Regions from separate parts of the Homo sapiens genome. Here region 1 is linked to region 2. The links are contacts of gene promoters, found by promoter capture Hi-C in human tissues and cell types (Jung and others, 2019). All regions are on one chromosome and are shown on one strand. Each heading gives the region's core, a stretch centred on a gene start or on the middle of the fragment in contact. The rest is flanking DNA. Distances are from core to core; before and after follow the strand shown.

The links. The method cuts DNA at HindIII sites, captures the fragments that hold promoters and counts their contacts. A contact is called where the count stands out against the background at its distance.
Region 1: a fragment that was not itself captured here is called in contact with the fragment with the promoter of ZZZ3 in region 2 in 1 of the 25 tissues and cell types used here (dorsolateral prefrontal cortex).

Annotation. Positions count from the first base shown.
Region 1 is chr1:76,319,779-76,326,718 of GRCh38, forward strand. All of the region lies in intron 2 of ST6GALNAC3 (ST6 N-acetylgalactosaminide alpha-2,6-sialyltransferase 3), which reads left to right. Among named protein-coding and RNA genes, the nearest start is that of ST6GALNAC3, 250 kb to the left of the region's middle. The HindIII fragment of the contact is 4,951 bases long and covers 1-4,491 here.
Region 2 is chr1:77,681,096-77,688,339 of GRCh38, forward strand. It overlaps ZZZ3 (zinc finger ZZ-type containing 3), which reads right to left and starts at 1,563. Exons shown (of 15, transcript NM_015534.6): 1 at 1,490-1,563. RefSeq lists enhancers at 1,619-1,698, 2,516-3,289, 2,719-2,818 and silencers at 2,079-2,498, 2,509-2,568. The HindIII fragment of the contact is 15,193 bases long and covers 1-6,322 here.

The DNA.
Region 1 (6,940 bases), core at 766-3,265, 1.4 Mb before region 2:
ACATATAATAAATCAAAACTTTGTGACTTTTTACCACCCTCCTCATTGATTTCATCCTTTGTTCTGACAGCCCCACCCCTACCAGCATGTCTGTACCATGCTCTTACTCCCAAATGAATTTGACATGTGTGTATTGGATTTGTCATTTTAAGGATAATTTATCATTTTTCTCAAGTATGAAAGGATATATTTTTTGAGTGGAGAAGAGATGACTATGTTTCTCAGTCTGGTTGTGAAATAGCAACTTTCAATCAATGACCATATCTCCAGACAATCTATGAGTGCCAGATGAGAAGGACAGATGCCACTGTGGGTTAGAATATTTCCAGGAAGCTTTTGTGGGAGAGGTGAGACATGTGCTTTGGAGAAAGATTTGGATGGGACAGAGGAAGAAGACAAAGCAGAGTTGGGTAAAAAAGCAAAGGTTCAGAATATGTATTGTGCATTTTCCTTCAGCCCCTATGACTCCCAGTAGGCCAAGGACACTATATGGAAAGCTACAGTAAAGCCCTAATGTCTATGCTGGTAATCGTCATTGCCTCACACTTGGTGGATCCATTTCATACCTTTCTCTGGATTCAATACCTTTAGTCCTAATCGTGTGGCTCTTCTTTTTGTTTGGCTGGTTATCTAGTCTTGTAGTGCTCTTACCTTGGCCCTACTGCCCTGCATACTATGTAGGGGGTCACTTCTAATAATGCTTCTCTCTGTGTACCCCTGACATGGACACAACTCCCCATTTCCAAGGGGCCCCTGAAGTACTGCCCAGGCCTCTGCAATCCTCTGACTTCCAGAGAAGGAAGTCAGGCACATGTACAGGTAATACATAGGTCAACCTGGCTGGAACTTACTCTGGAATATAGAAGAAGATAGAAAATGCATTCATTGGGTAATTATGATCTGGGAATGTGAGTGGGATTATGGAAAGACCACACTCCTATTTAGACATAGGAGTAATACATACATGTAATATATATATACATTCATAGTTATGAATCAGTATATACAAGTATATGGAAAATACATACATGTATGCATGCATGCAGCATATACATGCATACATGTTCACAGATCAAGTTCTAGCCACTTAAATACAAACATACATAGAATATATACAACATACTATGTTATACATTAAAATGGTATGTAAAATGGTGTGTAAATGGTGTAAAATGGTATATATATACACACACACACACACACACATTATATATATATATATATAGTCAGGTAGGTGTATAGTGTGCCTTTTGCGGTTGTCTACTCTCCACCTTCCCTTTATTAGAGAAGGTGGCCCTTCCTTTTGACCACAAGGGTGAGCAGAAAAGTCAGGCTAGTGATTGGTCAATCAAGTGATTGGTTGAGGGGTGGGCTCATGGCCCAAGATGAGCCATTCTGAAGCCTTCTCAAATTTTATTATGTTTTTCTGGGACACACTGGCAGGAAAGGCCCCCTTTTCTCTGGTGGTAAAGCTGTTGGGATGTGATTCTCTGGATGTCAGTAGCTGTGTTCCCAAGACAGAATGAGACAAAGACACTGAGAGAAGCAGAAACAAGTTGCAAGGCTAATGTGAAGACCCAGACAACACTTCAGGTCCTGAGCTCAATTCTTGAAGGCAGCCTCCCCTCCCATCCCCCATGGTTTGGGTGTATAAGCCAATATATTTGTCTTCTTTTTACTTTTGCTGGTTTGAACTGTTTTTGTCCCTTGCAACCAAAAAAGTCCTAGCTGATATATTGTAGTTATTTTACAGCCACCACCACCAAATGTTCAGTAACTCATCTTTAAACAAGGTGCCATCTGAAGGAGGAGAGGAGTAGTCTTTCCAAATCTGCACTCTCAAACCTGCTGGGGGGCCAAACACAAGTCACATCCATCAGTCAGTGCAGGTGTCTGCAAGGGGTGAACGCTGTCTATCTTTCTGCTTAGGTGCATATTGCTTAGTAAACTAGCTTATCCTTTTGTGGTAGAAAAATGAAGGTCAATTTCCCAAGGTTATAATGCCAGAAAATGGCTGGACAAGACTGACTACTACCTGAATTGCTAGTCGTACTCAACTGATAAATCATATAGTTTCATTATAATTGTTAGATGAAAATTTCTCTATTGCTGTGAGGCATCAGCAGTCAAACTAGATTGATTTTCACTTTACAAATCACATTTTTTATTGATGAAAAATCCATTATTATCATAGGTTTTAATGTAGTGATCGGTTCCTCAGGAAGATATACCGCAGTTTTATTTATTACAGAGCCTTAGGTAGAAAAGTCCCCATTTGCCAACTATCTTGTTAACGCACTTGAAAGGGGCCTATTAGAAATTCAACTATCAAATTACCTCATTTGTGACAAGCAAAGGAAAACAAAACAGTGTATCTATCACAAATACCTTGATTTGAGGGTTGAAAAAGATGATAGAACTCATGTCCTGATGTAGAGAGTTTTTCTATAGCTCTTCTCAAGCTGATGGCCTGGCAGAGTGACTAGTGCGAAAAGCTTTCATCAAATGGCAATTGGTATTAACCAAATACCAAATATTTTGAAAAGTGCTTATTCTGTTCCAGACATTGTGCTAAGGATCAGCAATGAACTGTAATTTAAAGAAGTGTTAAAATTGGGGTTCACCAAAGAAGAGAACAACATGGACCCAAGTTAGGAGTATCCTGGAACAATACCACCTAGAAGGTGTTTGCATTGCAGCCTGTAATGATGATGGCTGAGTAACCATCTTACACAAGAAATTCATTTCACTGTTCTTAAGAATAGTGAACATTCAAGTAATTTCAATTAAACACTTATATTTAATGTCTAAAAGGTAATTTGTCACTAAGTAGATGGCATCAAATTGTGAGTTCTTATTTTTCAGAGTAGCCTTACAAAGCCTTATTCACAAAAGAAAGATAGCCATTACAGAATATTTCATTTCAAAAATAACTATATGCTTTTATATCAAATGTTATCCACCACTGCCCCCCACCCCCCCACAAGTTTGGGAAATAGTATGTCTGGTTAACCGAGTCATCTGACTAATAGGCATTTGCCAAGTATTTAATAAATGGATTCTTTATTTATTCATTTATTGACATGGAGTCTCGCTCTGTCACTTAGGCTGGAGTTCAGTGGCACGATCTCGGCTCACTGCAACCTCCACCTCCTCGGCTCAAGCGATTCTCCTGCCTCAGCCTCCCGAGTAGCTGGGATTACAGGCACCTGCCACCATGCCCAAAAATTTTGTATTTTGTAAAAATACAAAAATTACCTCTAGAAATACCCTGCTGTGGTGTTTCATAATATGTGTATTTGAGTATTTGCTCTGTTGTCTTCTTCAAATATGAACATTTATGAATCCCAAAGTATACCTGGTTCAAATGATTTTAGATAAGGGATTGCAGGCCTGTGTCAAACACAGACTATAAAAATGATTAAGAATGAATAAAATACATGGGAAGCAAAGTTCTAGCAAAAATAAAATATCTCTGAAAAATAATTGAATATAATGACTAGAAATAAATAAATAAAATTGTAATACCTCAGTGGTTAGGTTAAATGACAGTCACTGTGTTAAGTATTTTATGTGCCATTTTCTTTTAGCTCTTACAGAGTACATACTATTTTACTGATTTAACTAATTTTTCAAGGCCCCCAAAGTATTGATTCTATGCTAGTGTCTTTCATTGTCCTGTGTGGCAAAACAAGAACCTAAGACTATCCTAGTCAACAAATTCCTTTAAATGGTTTCACAGAGTGTCTGCCAATTCATGAAGTCAGTAAGTTCATGGAATCCCATTTGTTGAATTTACTACATGCAACGCACTGTGCTAGGCTCTGAAATTGTAAAAAAGAAAACACTTTTTGCCTAGGGATAAATAAAATTTTTTCATAATGTTAAAGGCTAATAAAGAAGGTAGAATAACATGTGAAAGATTATTTTAACTCTTTAAATGTAGTCATAGAAAGAAAGTTTGGAGATAATACTTCAAAATATTAACTGTGATGGTCTATATCTGGGTTGTAAATTTTAGAATTTTTTTAAAAAACATGTTTTCCAAATTTTCTACAATGAGCACATATTGTATTTATTACTAGAATTTTTTTTTTTTGAGATGGAGTCTCATTCTATAGCCCAAGCTGGAGTGCAGTGGTGTGACCTTGGCTGACTACGACCTCTACCTCCCAGGCTCAAGTGATTCTCGTGCCTCAGCCTCCCAAGTAGTTGGGACAACAGGTGTGCACCACCATGCCCGGCTTAATTTTTGTGTTTTAGTAAAGACATGGTTTCACCATGTTGCCCAAGGTGGTCTCGAACTCCTGAGCCTGATCCGCCCGCCTTGGCCTCCCAGAGTGCTGGGATTACAGGTGTGAGCCACCATGCCCGGTTGAAGAAGTATTTTTTAAGCAATGTATATCTGTGAAACACTCTAGAACTTTCACTATCATTTAAAGAATAGGATTTAAAATGTCTAGATAAATATATTGTTTGGAATACTTTAAAAAGTGAATATTCTCCCATTCCTTAAATGTGGGTTTCTCCTAGTGACTCCCTTAATAGGACTACAATATGGAAAGGAGAATAAATAGTAACTGTGGTGGAAAGGCTGACAAACACTATCTCAGCTAAGTGATCAAGGTTAACATCAATAGTGACAAATGGTGTTGGTAGTATATACCCTTGGTATGATGTGATGAAACCGACACTTTACCACTGAGGCCATCTTCCCCAAATCCCATAAGCCTGTTTAATCATGAGATAAATATCAGACAAATAAATATTGGGGGCCGTTCTACAGAACACGTGATGACAACTCCTCTAAACTGTTCAGGTTATCAAAAACGAGGAAAGTCTGAGAAACCCCCACAGCCAAGAGTGTCCTAAGGAAACATGACAACTAAATGCAATGTGGTATCCTGGATGGGCTCCTGAACAGAAAAAAAGACATTAGATCAAAACTAAGTATGAGTAAAGTATGGACTTGAGTTAATAATAATTAATTGTAACAAATGTATTATACTATACGAGATGTTGATAATGGAGAAACTGAGTGTGGGCTATATGGTAACTATCTTCTCAATTTTTAAATAAATCTGAAACTATTCCAAAATATAAGGTTTGCTTTTTTTATTAATTATTGCACTTTCATTTTTTTAATTTTTCACATATATATATTTTTATTATACTTTAAGTTCTAGGGTACATGTGCACAACGTGCAGGTTTGTTACATATGTATACATGTGCCAAACACTGCATGTACTCACTCATAGGTGGGAATTGAACAATGAGAACACTTGGATACAGGAAGGTTTGCTTTTAAAAAAGGTATTTAGGTTTTTGACCTGTGCATCTGGAAGGTTGGAATTGTCATTGACTGAGATGGAGAAGACCATAGGAGAAGGTGAATTGAAAAAATTTGAAATATACTAGTCTAGCCCCATAGGGCAGGGATGTATAAGATACATGCATTGTGAATACATCACTGTTTTAATATTCTGTATTTAATACAATAAATATTTTGGCAGAGAAATAGTGAGTATTCTAGAAATAATTCCTGTCCTCTTTAAGAAGTACAAGTTCTTCAAAGATTCCCCAGGAACAGCTGTGCAAGTCAGTGTGGCTTTCTAATCTCTTTCATCTATACTTACACACTATAACAGTTTTTTCTATTGCAATGCAGCCCAAGTTTTTTGCAAGGTAAATTATTTGTGATATTCTTAGGAAGAAAAGGTAGAAAGTAAATAACTTTTTGGTGGCTTGGTATGGTGTTGTATTTTGCCAATAACTATTTATTTCCAATAGTGTTTAATGATATTTATTGGATTGAAGAAAGTTAGCTATCTTTCAGGTATCTTTCCCAGAGCTCACAGGACAATATTTCCAGCATGCCCCCGGAATGGTAGACATGCTGAAAATATTGTCCTGTGAGCTCTGACAATCTAGTACTTGTCACAAATAATTATTTTTACAATTATTATTACTATTATTATTATATTATTGCTACCATTGGTATACATACACACAAATATATATATATATATTTGGTCTTTTTGTGCTCTTTATTTTGTTTCATTGATCAACATTTTTTTGGTAAATGCTATTTTTATATAATTGTTGCTTGTAGTATTAGACCTACTTCTTTTTGCTCATCTTTTTTCAGAAATCTTTAATAAATTCACCTCTGTATGAATTTCAGCATCATTTTATTAAGTAGATGGGAAATCTTGGGTGTGTCAGAAAACTATTTGCATAATAATGCTGTGTAAGAAATCACCCAAACTCAGTGGCTTAAACAATTGTTTATTCTTGCTCATGTTTTTGTGGACCAGTTGCCATCCAGGCTGAGATCGGCTGTGCTTAGTTCCAAAGCTGCAAGTTGGGTCCTGGTCTGTTTCATGTGTCTCTCTTCACCAATGACCATTGAGCCACCTGGGGCATATTCTTCTCATGGTGGAAAAAGCACAAAAGACTAAGTTCAATCTTGAAAGCACATTGCAAGCTTCTGGTGGCCTCACATCTGTTAACATCCCATTGATCAAAGGGAGGCCCAAAATGAAGGGGGGAGTAAAGTGCACTTCACCCACCATGAGGTCAAGTCAAGTTACATGGGCAAGTCCAACATCAATGGAGTGGGAAGTATACTCCTCCTATGAAGGTGAGAGTAGAGAGAGTGACTATTTGCCAAAAATAATTTCATTCACCATTCTGGTGGAATATTTATGGGAATTGCATTAAATGTTAACTTGAAAACAGACACTATTAGAACAATTGCCTTTTCTACTAATATCTTATCTACACAAGTAATTGTTAAGTAATTTGCTAAAAAAGACTATGAATGTACATTTCAAGTAGACTTCCTGTGGTATCTAGTAGGAGCTTAAAAAATGTTTGCTAAACTGTTATTCATGGATATTTTGTATTTTTCTTATCTTGAGTGCCAGCTCTTAAAAT
Region 2 (7,244 bases), core at 313-2,812:
GCCAATATTGTGTTGGTACCCCATTAAAACAACACTTTCTCCCCTTCATTTAAGAAACAAAAACTAAACCAAAATATGGAAATATCTGGAATGATACACAGCAACCACAAAGGCTGGTTACAGAGATTTAAGACTGAGGAATGGAACTTTGTGGTACCGTGAAACAAGCACTGTGTTACTCTATACTATATACCTCTCTGTATTATGTATAGGAAAAAAAAACACTTTTGTAGTTTTAAAAAACAAACTATGAATAAATTAACTAGTCACCTGATTCGTTTTGTAATTAACTCCCCACTCCTTATTTAGTACTGCAACTACTAAATAAAATCCAAATACTACTTAAGAATACGAAAAAACAAAGGTATACTGTAAATTCACTTCTGAGACATTAGGGAATTGGAGAGAAATATTAAATTGATTTCAAACTCATTTAAGAAAAATAAAGCTCAAACTCTGATGCCAAAATTTATGAGTTTGCTCTTTACTAAAAAGTTGACCTGAGGCCGGGCGCGGTGGCTCACGCCTGTACAGTGCTGAAATCCCAGCACTTTGAGAGGCCAAGGCAGGTGGATCACTTGAGGTCAGGAGTTTGAGACCAGCCTGGCCAACATGGTGAAACCCCGTCTCTACTAAAAACACAAAAATTAGCCGGGCGTGGTGAAGCGCGACTGTAATCCCAGCTACTCGATACTCGAGAGGCTGAGGCAGGAGAATCGCTTGAACCCGGGAGGCGGAGGTTGCAATGAGCCGAGATCGCCCCACTACACTCCAGCCTAGGCGACAAGAGCGAGACTCCGTCTCAAAAAAAAAAAAAAAAAAATCACATGAAACAGTCTGTTACCTTAAATATATAACCTAAAACAACCATCCCTAAACTTCAAAGATGGCAACCTCAGTAACACAGTAGTAATTAAAACCCTACCGATAACTGAGTTAATAGGCACGTACAAAATGATGAAAAGCAGGATTTTATTCTGACCACAGGTGTTGTCAGAGACATAATGGGCCCTCCAAATACTGCCAAAAGTTACTGAAAATACGAAGTCAGGGTGATGAGTAAATGACACCCAGAGAAAATAGATGGGAGGAGTTCTGTTTCAGGAGACTGGAGTCAGGTACTGCAGCAGAAAACGCGACACAATAGTTAACCGGTCTGGAATACTTTAGAAAATGGCAAGAAGGGAAAAACTGACAAGAACATCTTAAAGTAAGAGGAACGGTATCCAATGGAATCATCAGGTCTGCGCGAGCACGGCTCCCGGACTTCCAGTGAGTGGGACAGGGTGGAACTATCACTGCGTGGGGAGAAGGACCTGGCTGAGGGGTGCATATGCTTTTGCAGGTGGTGGAGCGCCCGCAGGGGGATGGGGAGGGCAGTGTTGCCTCAATGGGGTTACTGTATTCCCTTCAAGACTATGGGAAGCTGATGCAGCACGTATCCCGGCACCAAGAGGCACTCGCCCCGGGCCCCTCCCTAACGACTTGCCTTGTAGAAAGAGTTGCAGGTCCCAGGCCCCCGGAACCCAAGGCTCCGCCATCCAGGACAACTGCTCTGCCAACGAGGTCCCGCGAGAATCGAGAGATCTCGCGATACAAACCCACTCGCATCTCGCGAGCTTCCACTAGACCCAACATGGCGGTACAGAAAAAAATCAGTATTTCGGAACTTAAAAAGCACTTCACTAACGGAGTAGTGAACATTTAAAACACTGAGACAGTAGGAAGTCTTTCCGCTTTATACGTCTCCTCCTTTCCCCTTGTACAGAAAAGCAGAAATCTTAAAAACCTCCGATTACCACGATTATACTACATAAACAGAGCGCAGTGCGCTGCCCCAGGCAGCCTCCCTGTCACGTGGAAACATTTTCGGCGTGCCCGTCACGTGGGCCGCTACTGAGCGAGCGCGCTCCCGACGCCCTCCCAAAAGCCCTCCCCGCCCCCCCTTTCGCCCGCGCACACGTGCGCGCGCACCCCCGCCCCACGTGGGGGCTTCGCCGTCGCAGCCGTCGCAGCCGTCGCAGTCGTCGCCTCCAGCCCACCCCCTCCCGGTACTTGGCTCCAAATCCGGGTCCCAAGCCGATCGTTTCCCACCCCCATTCCCTCCCCCTTCATTCTCCCTCCCCCGTGTCTGGCCCTCACCACGTGTCCCGAGCTCTTGCTCACCTTTCACGCGGGGTCGGACGCAACGGGCCACTTGGGGAGGCGCCGCCGCCGTGGCCGCTCTCCGCCCCCGCCACGGCACTTGCTCGGGTGGCCACCGCTGCAGGAAGCTCGATAGCGGCGCCGCGGCGCTTCCAGGTGGGTCCCCGCCTCCCGCTCCTGCCACTTCCCGCAGCACCAGCGGCTCCTTCCGGTCCCCTCCTTTCTCCTCGTTGGGACTGGCGGGCGGCGGCGGCGGCGGCGACCGCTGCTGCTGCTGTTGCTGCTGCTGCAGGCGCGCTCACTACACCGCCTGCTGGTAACCGCGGCCCGTGCAGCGCCCGCGGGTCGGGCGCCGCCGAGGCCCTCCCCGGCCAGTCCCTGCCCCTGGGCGAAGTTTGGTCTTCCGAGGGCGGGTTGCAGTCCATCCCTTGCAACCGTCCAACCTGGCCCTAGCAGAGGAAAGGCGTCCTCGTAGCTCCGCCATTGGAAATCGGCTTCATCCTGCCCTTTGTGGCCTCCTGAGAGATTTGTAAACCCCACCTCCCTTAGCACTGTGGTCTCAAGCCAGGAGAACATCCATACATGTATTTATGATCGTGCTTCTGCCTCGCCTCGTTCACCTCTGGCTTGTACCACAGCACGCAGGCTCGAACCACTTCGGGCCTTTGTGCTTGCCGATTTCTCTGGCAGAACATTTCCTCCAGATTTTTTTTAACTCCTCGATGTTCGATGCATATTTCAGGTCCCTTCTCAGAGGGCTGCCCAGACCACTGTATCCAAAAAAAGTACACCTGCACCATTGCTTTAACTCTTCACCTGCTTTTATTTCTTCATAACAGTTACAACTTCCAGACCTTATTTGTCAGTATCCTCACCACCAGAAATGTAAAATTTTTAAAAGCAGGGACTTAGTAAACTGTTTTGCTCATTGCTGTATCCCCAGAATTGTGTCTGGCACAAAGCAGTGCTCAGTAATATCAAAACAGATCTACCAACTATATTGAGCATGTAGGAAAATAAAGCCCAACACACATTAATGAAGATAAATAACTTCATCATTTATGAGCTGTGGAAAAACAGCTAAACCTCCTTCCGTGGCTATAAAGATTATGTTCCAAAAATATAAAATCCAGTGGTAGAAGCCGTTAACTGGGGCTCTTCTTTGACAATTGTCCAGTGCTGTTTCATTACTTTTGTTTTCCTTTGCAACACTATTTTTTTTTTCGGGCAAGTGGATACGTGTTGTGCCTTCTTTTATGTTGCTAATAAAAGTTATTAAATGTTTTAAATGGTGTTTTGTATTTTAGCTTTGAGTTCAACTCAAAGTAACATCTACTTCAAGAAAAAGGGTTACATGTTTTTAACACATCAAGTATTTATTGAACATACTAGTGTTTCTGGGTGGCAGTATGTCAAAAAAAAACGGGGGTGGGGGAGGCCGGGCGCGGTGTCTCAAGCCTGTAATCCCACCACTTTGGGAGGCCTTGACAGGCAGATCACCTGAGGTGTCAGGAGTTAAAGACCAGTCTGGCCAACATGGCGAAACTTCGTCTCTACTAAAAATAGAAAAATTAGCCAGGTGTGGTGGCACACGCCTGTTATCCCATGTAATCCCAGCTACTTGGGAGGCTGAGGCAGGAGAATTGCTTGAACCCGGGAGGTGGAGGTTGCAGTGAGCCGAGATCGTGCCACTGCACTCCAGCCTGGGCGACAGAGCAAGACTGTCTCAAAAATAAAAAAGGAAAGATAAAACATACTAGTGCCCTATGCTAAGACTAGAGATACAAAAATAAACACGTTTCCCTACCTTGCTCTTTCTACTTATAGAGCCAAATCCTATTATAATAACCATACTTAGCATGCTTTTGATTCCTATGTGCCAGGCCAAATGCTGTGTACTTTTCTATGTTACCCTATTTTAGGCTTCTGACAATCCTATGAGATATATACTATTTGTGGTAGGCCTTGAGATGCACTTTTCAGACCCCACTTCAGGAATAAAGAACTGAGCTGCTGCTGCCAAGAGTCATACCCACAGCCAGCCATCGGTTGTCAGCCCCTTTCAGGCATGCCAGTGTCACAGAGTCATAATGTTCTCAGAGAGGCCACATCCAGTGACTGATCAATGCAGGGATAAAAGGCTCAGCCCTCTCACCTCCATTTGGTACAATTCTGATGGATTTTCTCCTCCTGCAGAACAACTTGCAGGATCAGCTAAGGCATTCCATTGAGACTTCACTGAAGTCCAACTTCTGCCCAGTTCAGCTTTTCTTCCCTCCCACAAGTAATGATCCCAAGAGCATTCCCTAATAAATCTCCTGCACACTAGTCATGTAAGAGTGTGCTTCCTGGGAACCGAGCCTGTAATATTATTTGTATTTTTCTATTGATAAAGCAAGTAACTTGCCCATTTGAACTGCAGAAGTTTCTATATAGATACATAAAGTACTGTGGGAGGGGAGGAGGGCTTCTGGGAAGGGCTTCTTACAAGGATTGGCATTTAAGTTACAGGATGACTTTGCTAAGAAGAAAAAAATAATTCTTGGATGAGGGAACTGCATGAATGAGTATGTGAATGGGAGAAAACTACAAGTAACCCCAAATGGCTGGACTGTAGGGTCTTTGGGGTAATCCCTACAGGATAAGGAGAAAGCAGTTCATGGATGGTAAAGAGGGTAGCCAAGAAAAAACTCTAGGCCTGAGAATAACTCTTAGCCAAGTGGAAAGGGATGGGAGCCCCTGAGATCCTCAATTAAGAGTAGGAAAGAGAAGCTTCATTGCTCCTGGAAAAGGGAACCACTGCCAACCTTGCTGGCAAATACCACTCCCTAATTACGACATGTATATTCCTACATGGCCTTTGTTATTTTTTTTTTCTTTTGGAGACAGGATCTCGTTCTGTCGCCCAAGCTGGTGTGCACTGGCACAGTCTAGGCTCACTGCAGCCTCCTGTGTCCCTTGTAGCTGAGATACGCACCACTGTGCCCAGTTAATTTTTGTATTTTTTATAGAGATGAGGTTTTGCCATGTTGCCCAGGCTGGTCTCAAAACTCCTGGCCCCAAGCTTCCACCCACCTCAGCCTCCCAAAGTACTGGGATTACAGGCGTGAGCCACCACGCCTGGCCCCCTTTGTTATTTTGACCTAGGATCACGTTATATTGAAGATGGAAGATACATTAACATCAACTAATTCAGCAGTTTGTACAATATTTTCTGAAGCACTGGAAATTTCTTGTATACTCATATTCTTATGCCAGGATCCAATATTTGAGCCAAATAAAACAGGACCTGGGAGGAGGCAACCAGCTGACATTTTCCTCAGTCCCTTACCACGACACATAAGATGCTACCTCAGAACACACTTTGAAAATCATTGATGTAGTTCATTCTTTCAACAAATATGCCAGGTGCCATACAAGGTGCTAGAGATACAGTGGTGAACAAAGCAAGCACAGGCCCTACTCTGACAGAGCTCACAGTCTAGGGAGGGAGGCTGACATTTAAAATATAATCACATAAATTCAAACTGGTTAGTACCATTCATGAAAAGTGCAGGTCACCCGTCTGGGAAGTGAGAAGCGCCTCTGCCCAGCTGCCGCCCTGTCTGTAAAGTGATGAGCCCTCCTGCCTGGCCGCCCAACTGTCTGGGAAGTGAGGAGCGCCACTGCCCGGCCACTGCACCATCTGGGATGTCAGGAGCCCATCTGCCCGGCCCGCACCGTCTGGGAAGTGAGGAGCACCCCTGCCCCGCCGCCTCACCTTCTGGGAAGTGAGGAGCACTTCTGCCCCGCCCCCATCCCGTCTGGGAAGTGAGGAGCACCTCTGCCCCGCTGCTCCACCATCTGGGAAGTGAGAGCACCTCTGCCCCGCTGCTCCACCGTCTGGGAAGTGAGGAGCGCCTCTGCCCTGCCCTCCCCCCTCCACCCCCCCCCCACGCCCCCCGCCACCCCACCGTCTGGGAAGTGAGAAGCACCTCTGCCTGGCTGCTCCACTGTCTGGCAAGTGAGGAGCGCCTCTGCCCAGCTCCCGCCCCGTCTGGAAAGTGAGGAGCGCCTCTGCCTGGCCACCCAACTGTCTGGGAAGTTCGGAGCGCCACTGCCCGGCCACTGACATCTGGGATGTCAGGAGCCCATCTGCCCGGCCTGCACCGTCTGGGAAGTGAGGAGCGCTTCTGCCTGGCCCCCACCCCCTCTAGGAAGTGAGGAGCGCCTCTGCCCAGTCCCCCCATTGTCTGGGAAGTGAGGAGCGCTTCTGCCTGGCCCCCACCCCGTCTAGGAAGTGAGGAGCGCCTCTGCTCGGCCCCCACCCCATCTGGGAAGTGAGGAGCGCCTCTGACCGGCCCCCACCCCGTCTAGGAAGTGAGGAGCACATCTGCCCGGCCCCCACCCCGTCTGCGAAGTGAGGAGGGCCTCTGCCCGGCCACCACACCGTCTGGAATGTGAGGAGCAAGTCGGGGAAGTGAGGAGGGCCTCTGCCCGGCCGCCCCGCCCCCCACCCCTCCTTCCATCTGGGAAGTGAGGAGCGCCTCTGCTGGCCGCTGTGCAACCCTCCAAGTGTGAAGTGACAGCCTTGTGCGTGCTCTTTCTGCCCTCCCCAAGTTTGCATTTTCGACATTAAAGTTTACTTTTTTTTTTGAGACGGATCGCTCTGTCGCCCAGGCTGGAATGCAGTGGCGCGATCTCGGGTCACTGCAAGCTCCGCCCCCCAGGTTCACGCCATTCTCCTGCCTCAGCCTCCCGAGTAGCTGGGACTACAGCCACCCGCCACTACGCCCGGCTAATTTTTTGTATTTTTAGCAGAGGCGGGGTTTCGCCGTGTTAGTCAGGATGGTCTCGATCTCCTGACCTTGTGATCCGCCCACCTCGGCCTCCCAAAGTGCTGAGATTACAGGCGTGAGCCACCGCGCCCGGCCTTAAAGTTTACTTTTTAATTAAAAGTTTTAAATTGGAGAATATACAAAAAAAAAGCGCAGGTCACTATGAGAATATGTCCATATACCCAAAAGTACATACATGTTCTAAAGTACTTCTGAGGAAGCAACATCCAATCTGAGATGAAGTATGCATTCACCACTTCTAAAGTGTGAATGCATTTAGGA